Regions from separate parts of the Homo sapiens genome. Here region 1 is linked to region 2. Evidence: promoter capture Hi-C in human tissues and cell types (Jung and others, 2019). All regions are on one chromosome and are shown on one strand. The core of a region is centred on a gene start or on the middle of the fragment in contact, and the rest is flanking DNA. Distances in the headings are between cores, read along the strand shown.

Evidence for each region. The method cuts DNA at HindIII sites, captures the fragments that hold promoters and counts their contacts. A contact is called where the count stands out against the background at its distance.
Region 1: a contact is called between a fragment that was not itself captured here and the fragment with the promoter of ZBTB7C in region 2, in 3 of the 25 tissues and cell types used here (heart left ventricle, liver and stomach).

The regions. Positions count from the first base shown.
Region 1 is chr18:48,440,735-48,444,961 of GRCh38, reverse strand. No RefSeq gene overlaps it. Among named protein-coding and RNA genes, the nearest start is that of ZBTB7C, 33 kb to the right of the region's middle. The HindIII fragment of the contact is 5,648 bases long and covers 1-4,125 here.
Region 2 is chr18:48,407,564-48,411,825 of GRCh38, reverse strand. It overlaps ZBTB7C (zinc finger and BTB domain containing 7C), which reads left to right and starts at 2,443. Exons shown (of 5, transcript NM_001318841.2): 1 at 2,443-2,600. RefSeq lists a silencer at 1,275-1,654 and enhancers at 2,925-3,542, 3,543-4,162. The HindIII fragment of the contact is 7,054 bases long and covers 1-4,262 here.

The DNA of each region.
Region 1 (4,227 bases), core at 52-2,551, 34 kb before region 2:
CCAGATGCAAGTGCCCCAGGAGAGGAGGCTCCCTGCAGGGGAGGCCAACCCTGAAGAGCTGACCCTGGAGGCTTTCTGCGGACCACACTCCCCACAGCTGGATAGCGAGCCCTTCCCTGAAGGGGATCTAGAAGCTGTGTTTCCATGTGCACCTCACCCTTTTAAAGGATCCCATAACCCAGTGACCCTCCAGCACCCCACTGATAGGAGGACTCTCCCAGGACCAGGGCACCCTCTTTCTACAGAGGCAGCCCATCCCCATTTCACAAGGTGCTGGGCTTCCCTCTGCTGAGCTAAAATCTGCACTCCTAAAATGCAGGAGTGCTAGTCTAGGTTCTGCCCTTTGGAGCTACACAAATCAAAAACCCATTCCCATGATGACTATTGGGAGCATCTCCCAGCCCACTCCCATCCTGATCTCTCCATTCATTCCCCATGTGACATACGTCCGTGATCTCTGTCCAGATCATTGCTGTTTAGTCCAAATCCCTCTGACATATGGTTCCAGCTCTGAATGCAGTTCTCCAGGAGGCCTGCTTAGTGCTGAGACTAAGTCCTTCTTGCTCTGAAGGACACAGTCAAATCACAGTGTTGACTCAACTGAAGTTTACCAAAATCCTCAGCCACCAGCCACTGCTGATCCAAAGAGCCACGGACTGTCCTGCTGTAATTGACTCTCAGACACAAGTAAAGAATTTTGTATTTGTCTCAGTTTTTTTCTAACTTTTAGCCCCTTCCCAAGGGAATTTGCATTTTAACAGAAAAGGATGAATATCTGAGAAGGGATTCCTGGATGGATCAAAAGATGAATTTTCAGCCCTGGGTGTTCCTGCAAACACCCACAGATTAGTGCTTATTAGTGCTTCTTTTTTGTTTTTTTGTTTTTGTTTTTGTTTTTGTTTTTGTTTTGAGACGGAGTCTTGCTCTGTCACCCAGGCTGGAGTGCAGTGGCGTGACCTTGGCTCACTGCAACCTCCACCTCCTGGGTTCATGCCATTCTCCTGCCTCAGCATCCCAAGTAGCTGGGACTACAGGTGCCCACCACCACGCCTGGCTAATTTTTTTGTGTTTTTAGTAGAGATAGGGTTTCATCATGTTAGCCAGGATGGTCTCAATCTCCTGACTTCATGATCTGCCTGCCTCGGCCTCCCGAAGTGCTGGGATTACAGGCATGAGCCACCATGCCTGGCCAGATTAGTGCTTCTTAAACCCGTTTCAGGAGTATGTAGCAGTTCATTACAGGAAGCTCAAACAAGCTTCTTTTAGCAAGAAGCATCCTCCTGGAGGGTCACTTTATCCTAAGATTTGGGGACAAAAATTCCTATATTAAGCAACTCAGTAATAATATAGAAAAGAATGCAAAATATACATGAATTTCTAAGGGAAATTATTGACTTCAAAGACATTTCACACATCTTTTGGGATGCCTTAGGCCCACCCCTGGCCTCCCTGGAGGGGAGCAACATAGTCACTCTCTAGTTACAGAGTACTTGGTGTAGATAATGATGCTCTCCACCCTGGGCCAAAGTGGCCATGCATGGGCCAAGACATACACAAGATAACCAACCAAATAAGAACCAAACCCACACACTCCCTGCCAGTCTAGACAATGCAGTTTTGGAGGTAGAGGGTCCCTCACAGATCAGCTAGTCTGATTTTTTTGTTTTACAAAGATACTAACACCAAGAGCCAGAGAATGGAAATCATTTGCTCAAGATGGGGCAGATTTGTGGTCCCCTGAGTCTGAGTCTCCTTCATGGCATTTACTATGGGTAGTGCCAGGGAGGTGAAATTGGCTGGCTGTGAGGCTGAAACATGGTAGGTAGGCCCCTCGGGTTGCTGTTCCAGGAGATCATGGGGCCATGGGCATAATAGGCACAGGTAGAAGTTTCTGGCAGGAGTAGCTGCTGGAGAATCCACATACTTGATGTGCTGGGCAGCTCCCTGTGGGTTGAGTCAGCCTCAGCCAGCTACTAGGGATTCACCCTGGATCCATTCTCTTACGTGTGAGGCTGACATCAGAACCACTTTCTATGACTCCAAGAGAAAGCCACACTTCTTTCTCAACAGTTATTTCAGACATTGATTTTTTTCTCCCCCTGGTTGTTTCTCATGGAAAACAAGACTGCTTTCCCCCAAGTCCCAAGTGACTGCCTTCTTTGATCCTGCCCCTGGGGCTGTGTGTGTGACACCATCATTTGGCAAACAGTGAGAAAACAAAGAGAAAACCCAGAAGGGTTGGGGTTTCTAAAATCTAGGGCACAGTCCATCCCTTGAGAAGCAGCAAGTAATCTAGCTGAGTGAGAGAAGACCAACATGAATTTGAAAACAGTAAAAAACCATAAAGAAGGAAGGGTGGTTCAGGCTGTGATTGAGAGAATAGCTTAGAGGGGAGGGCTGGATGGGGACAGGAGTGATCAGGGAAACCTCGCTGGAGCTGCCATCTCCTGTCCTAGGTTTTGGGGCACCAGCACAAGAGTACCAGACTTGGAGGTGGGGGTGCACGTTTAAATTTGAGTTCACCCAAACGAATTTTGTAAGGGGGCCCATCTCCAGTTCTTCCTAAGTCCCCTCCCATGTTGTCCTCTATGCCCAGTGATTGTGTAAATCCCTCAGGAAAAGACTATCTCATCAGCATGCATTTTCTCAGATTGGCCCTGCTCTGCTGGCTTTTTCCCTACAGTTGTCTCTGTAGCTTCCCTTAGTCTCAGTTTCCCCATATGCGAACGAAAGAGATTTGTTCCCCTGCTCCTCTCTAAGAAGGTTGTGAAGATAAATGGCATCACAGGCTAGATCAATTCAACTCAAGCCCAGGGAAATATTGCACTGGGAAGCTTCATTCAAACTATTCTCCTCCAGTCTGTCAAGCATCGCTATCGAGACAGCTGGAGGAAGAATTTCAGATGGGGGGCTGGGCAAAGGGGTGGCACCCTTTGTATTCATTCATTCCACAAAAGAAAATATACTTGGATTCCAAGAAATGGAGGGAGCATAGCTCCAGGCAAGTGTGCAAGGGGGCCGCCTTGTCACCTTTCCTGAGTGTCCTGGGCCAGAGCAGCCGGTGGAGGACGTGGCACTTGGAACCAGCTCAGCTGCAAAGGCAGACCACAACCAAACCAGTAACTGCTTTTCCAGACACTGCACACAGCTTCGCCGGGCTGGAGAGTGTGAGGCAGCTGACAGACTGAGAAGGGCTTGCAGTTTCCAGCGCTCCGACCGGTGTCAGAAATCCTCAGAAGATTGATGGGCCTTTTCCAAAGAGGAGGCCAGAGCACTTTCAGGATGAGAGCCCGGGAGGAGCCGGGCTTTGGAGAACTTGGCACAGAGCTGCCTTTTGCCCCCAGGGACCTGGATCTGAGCGTGGTCCCAGAGTCTTGGCAGGAGGTCGTGTTTCAGTTGGCATCCTCTGCCGCGGTGGAGGAAGCCGACCACGGCCGGACATCCTGTGCCAGTTTGGGAGGGTTGGGAGCGCCTTTCAGAGAAGTCCCAAAACCCTGAGCACACGCAGTCACACTGCATTCATTCAGCACACAAGTGCTGTTTCTAAGGTCAGCACCAGATGTGACTTTAAAAGTGTACAAAAGGAACACAGATTTCAACAAGCGGAATCCTGCCTGGCCTTCAGCTTTAATGGAACAGCCCTCACAGGCCAACCTGGGTGGGTTTAAATTCATTTAAGCCACTTTCCTGACAGAGGGGTCTGACTACGGAGAACTCAGCCGAGGACTTGGAGCATTTCCTCCTGTAGTTAGATTCGGTGGAGGACTGGTGGGGCTGAGTCCTCAGCCCGATTAAGCAATGAATTGGGATTTGTTTCCCTGAGCCCAGGGGTGGCGGGGATGGGGTAAGGTTGTGGCAAGGTCCCTGGACTGGAGTCAGGCATTCTGTAATTGAGTCCTTCCTAGGATACTAACTAGCACATGACTGCAGGCCGTCAACCTCCTCGCTGTCCTATTCTGAGATTCCTCCAGCTTGAAAATTCGAAATGGGGGTGTTCCAACTATAAGCGAAGATTATATTTTTAATATGAGTGGAGGATTCCTGATGATCTCCAGTTAAAGGAAAGAGTTTTCTAAATCCATAGACTTTTGATTTCCCTTAAATTATTATGTAAATAGCAGATGTAAAGACAGTTCTAGTTGGAGTCAGGTAGGTAGGAAGAACTGAAATTCATTCAAATGAGCTTAAGAAAAAGGGAGTTTATTGGATCCTATGAAACCTAAGATG
Region 2 (4,262 bases), core at 1,194-3,693:
GAGGAGAAACTTTCTGATTTAGAGCCACATTTATATTAGAGTCTATTTACTATTTACTAGACTCTTTACTATTAGAGTCTAATTTACTGCCCACATCCCTCTTTTCTCAACCTAAATGCCCTTTTTATGGCTGTAGCTGCCCTCACCCCCAGAACTACATTTCTATTTCCTGCAGGTGTCTGGGCATTTGCAGGGCTGGGATCCTCTAGGTGCTCTCTAAATGCATCCGCATGCTTGGCATGAGGCGCAGCCAGACTTATGGCTTAGAAGCGGGGCCATATCAGCTGGGTCAGCAGCATTCCAAGTAACTGAAAACCCTTTAATGAAGGGAAGCAAGACAGGCAACTTAATTTAACAGAGAGACAAACCTAATATGAGAGGGCAGTGGCTGCCACAGCTGCTGAAAGCGAGATATATTATTTTGCCATTCTGGAAGCTTTAGCAACTTGGAAATCTGACATCCTGAGCCTGAACATACCTTAGGTTCCACGATAGACTATCCTAGATTTACATGTGCATTTGAATAGTTTGGATAAGATGGCTGTCCAAACTGTTCATTTGGTGAAATTTACTTAGTAGGAAAAACCAGATCTCTTTGGCAAATTAAACGTGACATAATTGTACCCAAACCCTACGTTTCAGATCCCTCTATTCATATCTAGTTTTCCACTCTTACATCCTATTCCAGAGCCCGTTTTCCCTTGTTTTCACTACTCCCAACGTACTATCTTGCAATGTGCGTTTATTACACGAATGAATGAAATGGTTTAAAAAAAAATCCCAATAAGTGATATTAGGAAGAGGCACCAAAGGTTCACAAACTTATTTTTGTGAATTCTGTAAAAAATGTCATCCAGTGTCTTCAGCATTAAAGGACACAGCAGCAGCCCCACTGCCCTTTTATTAATCCGTAGCCAGAATGGGCACTAGGCGGCCGGGATTCGCCATCTCGCCTCTCCTGGGCGCCAGGTGCGCCTCAGATAAGCGCAGCCGGGTAGGAGTTTGAGGACGACAAACTTTCCCGCTTCTGAGGGAGGAGCCCCGGAGAGGACCCGCTGACGTGCGAGGGTGCTGCCTCCGATGTACTACCAAGGAGGGCGAGGGTTCCTATGTCTGTCTGGAGCGCAGAGGGGTGGACTGCAAAAAGGTAGGAGGCAAAGCCAGCTCGAGTTTCCCCGGCCCGTAGCTGGAGGGAACATCTGCCCAAGTGTCGCCTCGCCCGAGAACGCTCACGCCCTCTCCAGGGCCAGGACCCTTCCTCCTCCCCTCGCACTGGCCCTTCGTGGCTTCCAGCACCGCTGAGCACTCGGCGTCCCAGCGAGATTCTCCTGCCCCGACAGACTCCGAGGGGGCGGGGCCCGGCGGGACGGGGCGGGGACAAGCCCTCCCCGGGCCCGCCCGTTGGCATTGTTGCGCGGTGATTGGACGCTTCGGAAGGCCGCCTTCCAGGCCGACCCGGGGAGTGACGGGCGGCCAGCGGCTGCTCCCCGGCGTGTGGGGTGCGGAGTGCGGGGCCCAAGGCTCCAGAGGGGTGGGGACTCCGGGCCGCAGCGCCGCCGAGCGCGATTGCCCGCTGAGATTCGGCGCCCCGGGGTGCGGCAAGCTTGCGGTTTCAGGTGCTGGCTAGGCGTCTTGGTGCGCTCGCTGGAGTGCCGAGAGCATTTGGGAAACTTAACTTCTCGCCCCCACTCCTTGCTCCCGACTTTCGGGTAGAAAAGCAGTTGCCGAGTTGTTTTATTTCCTCCCCCATCGGACTCTGTAAAAATAGCCGTGCGCCGGGGCGGCAGAGCCCATCTCTGCCGCACCGCTGCCCCGGGTCGGCAGAGCCCATCTCTGCCGCACCGCTGCCCCGGGTCGGGTGTGGACCTAAAAATACCCGGCGGTCCCAAGCCTGCGCTGGGGGTGCGGGCGGGTCCGGCCGGGCCGCAGAGGGCGTCAGGAGACCGGAGAAACGGCGGCCGCCTGGCCCCCTCGCCTCTGCCGGGGCTGTCCCTTTAAATCCTGGAGGAGGCAGAGAGAAAAAAGGAAAGAAAGAGAAAAGACGCGGAGCCCCGAGCGGTTGGTGGCGGTGCCCGGCCCCCCCACTCCGCCTCCGCGTCGGGTCCTGACTCCCGCCCGCAGCCTCCGCCAGTCCCGGGCGCCCCCCGCCGCGCCGCCCACTCGCCACAGTTACTGTCAAAATAGAAATTAGCGGAGCCGGGCGGGGGCTGCGGCGCAGCAAGTGCATGTGCCGCGCGGCGGGGAGGGGGCGGGCGCGAGCGACAGGCGACCGCACACATCCGGGCCCTTTAGCCCTGTGCGCCCCCCGAGCCGGCGGCGCGGGCGCGGGGCGCGGGGCGCGGGGCTGACAGCCGCGGCGCGGGAGGCGGGGCGCGGGGAGGGCGGAGGCGCGGCGCGGGGAGGGAGGAGCTGCCCGCTCGCCCGCTGCCGCCGCTCAGCTCCATACCCGCCGGCGCAGCCCCGCCACGAGACTCTGACAGCGGCGCGGCCGGCGAGGCTCGGGCGCGCAGGGACCGGCGGACACCGGCGGCGAAGGAGGACGCCAGGACTGCGTCCCGGAGCCAAGTGCGGGAGGCGCGCAGGGCCGGCGGCGCGCGGAGGTGAGCGGCTTCGCGCGCCGGGCTCGGGCGCCGGCTGCCGGGGTCGCGATCTCCACAGCACCTCGGCAGCCGAGGCAGTTCGGGAGGTCGCGGGGCGGCGGGCGGGTGGCTTTGCTTGGGCTGCGCCGGAAAGCGATTGCGGGGGCCGTTGCTAGGAGGCCGGCGGTCCGCGCGCCTTGGGGCGCCGGCTGGAGCAGGGGCGCCCTCCGCGCGGTGGGCAGGAGGCGGGGGGCTGCGGTGGCTATTCAGGGGCTCCGTGCGGCAGCCATGCAACGGAGGAGGCGGGAGGAGGGAGGGAGGGAAGGAGGGAGGGGAGAGCCAGCGGAGAGCGAGCCAGCGAGCGGGCGCCGCGCCTCCTGGCTGGCACCGCGGCCCGGAGCGAAGTGGCGCGCGGGGCTGGAAAGGAACTTCTGCGGGCGCGTGCGGCCCGGGGCTCGGCGGCGCCTGCGGGCCCGAGCGGGGCGGGCCCGTCGGCAGCCACAGGTGGTTTCTGCCAAAAGTTTTACCGCACTTCTGCCTGGAAGGCGCGGGAGCGTTTTGGTGAGTGACGTTTTCCTGGGACTTTTGCAGTCTCACTTCGCGCTGTCTTTTCTTGAAAATTGGAAAATGAGCTGGAAAGGCTGGGATCCAGCACCTCTCGATGAGATCTGAGCAGAGTACAGTCCTTGCCCGAGGTGTCGCTCATGCAGGACTCAAAGATCCTTGCTGCTGTCAAGTCGGGAAGCTGGGGGAAATGGGCGCACGCACACAGTTCCTCCAAGCCTCGGACAAGTGAAGCCGAGCCTGGCCCGGTGCCTGTCGCCGCGCGGGGTAGTGCGAGGTCTGTTCCCAGCGACACGCACGGGAACTGCGTGCGTCTTCTCTCAAGGTGTGTACGTCTCTTGCTCCGTTGAAAGCGAATTGTCTCTGGCCGCTGTGCTGCTTTGTTTTTCCGGTTGCTTGTCTGGTTTTACTAGGATGAAGGCCAGGAGGAGCCAAAGAAAAGCGAAGCGGCAGCTCCCGTTATCTTTGCAATCTGCAAAGCTGTGGAGGCTGGTACCCAACCTTCCGCGGCGCGGGCGCAAGGCCGAGGGGAGCTGGGGGTGGGTGGCGTGCGCTGCCTGTATGGGAAGTCTCGCTGGACCATGCGCAAGGCTAGAGCCGGAGTTTCTGGTGCTTCTAGGACAGAAAGAGGAGTGGGAGTGGGAAGGGAAGACCCCTTAAAAGAAGATATACTGTGCCCAGACCTGGGAGAGAGGCTCCGAGAAGTCCGGTGGCTTGGCCCTGTTCTTCATTGGCGGGGTTGAGGAATCCAGGGCAGCGAGGTAGAAACACCTCGGTAGGTCGTCCTGGGCTGAAAGAAATCATTATTCCCAGAGCGGGCCAGATACCCGGGTGTTGAAACTAGGTACAAAACTGCGTGAGAGGTGGAAACTCTCAGTCCTTCATTCTCCTTGGTCCGGTGGCTCCCGCTCCCTGCCCCCACAAGTACATGAGCAAAAAGCATGCCCTTTGCTTTATAGAAGGTCATAGGATTTTGAAGTTGAAAGAGACCCTAGAGATATTAGGAGCACTCATTTTACAGATGAGCAAACTCAGGCCCAAGGAAGGAAAGTGACCTGCTACAGTGGCTAGAGGCCCAGTGAGACTAGAAATGACATCAGCCTTCCAGGCAAGGGTGGA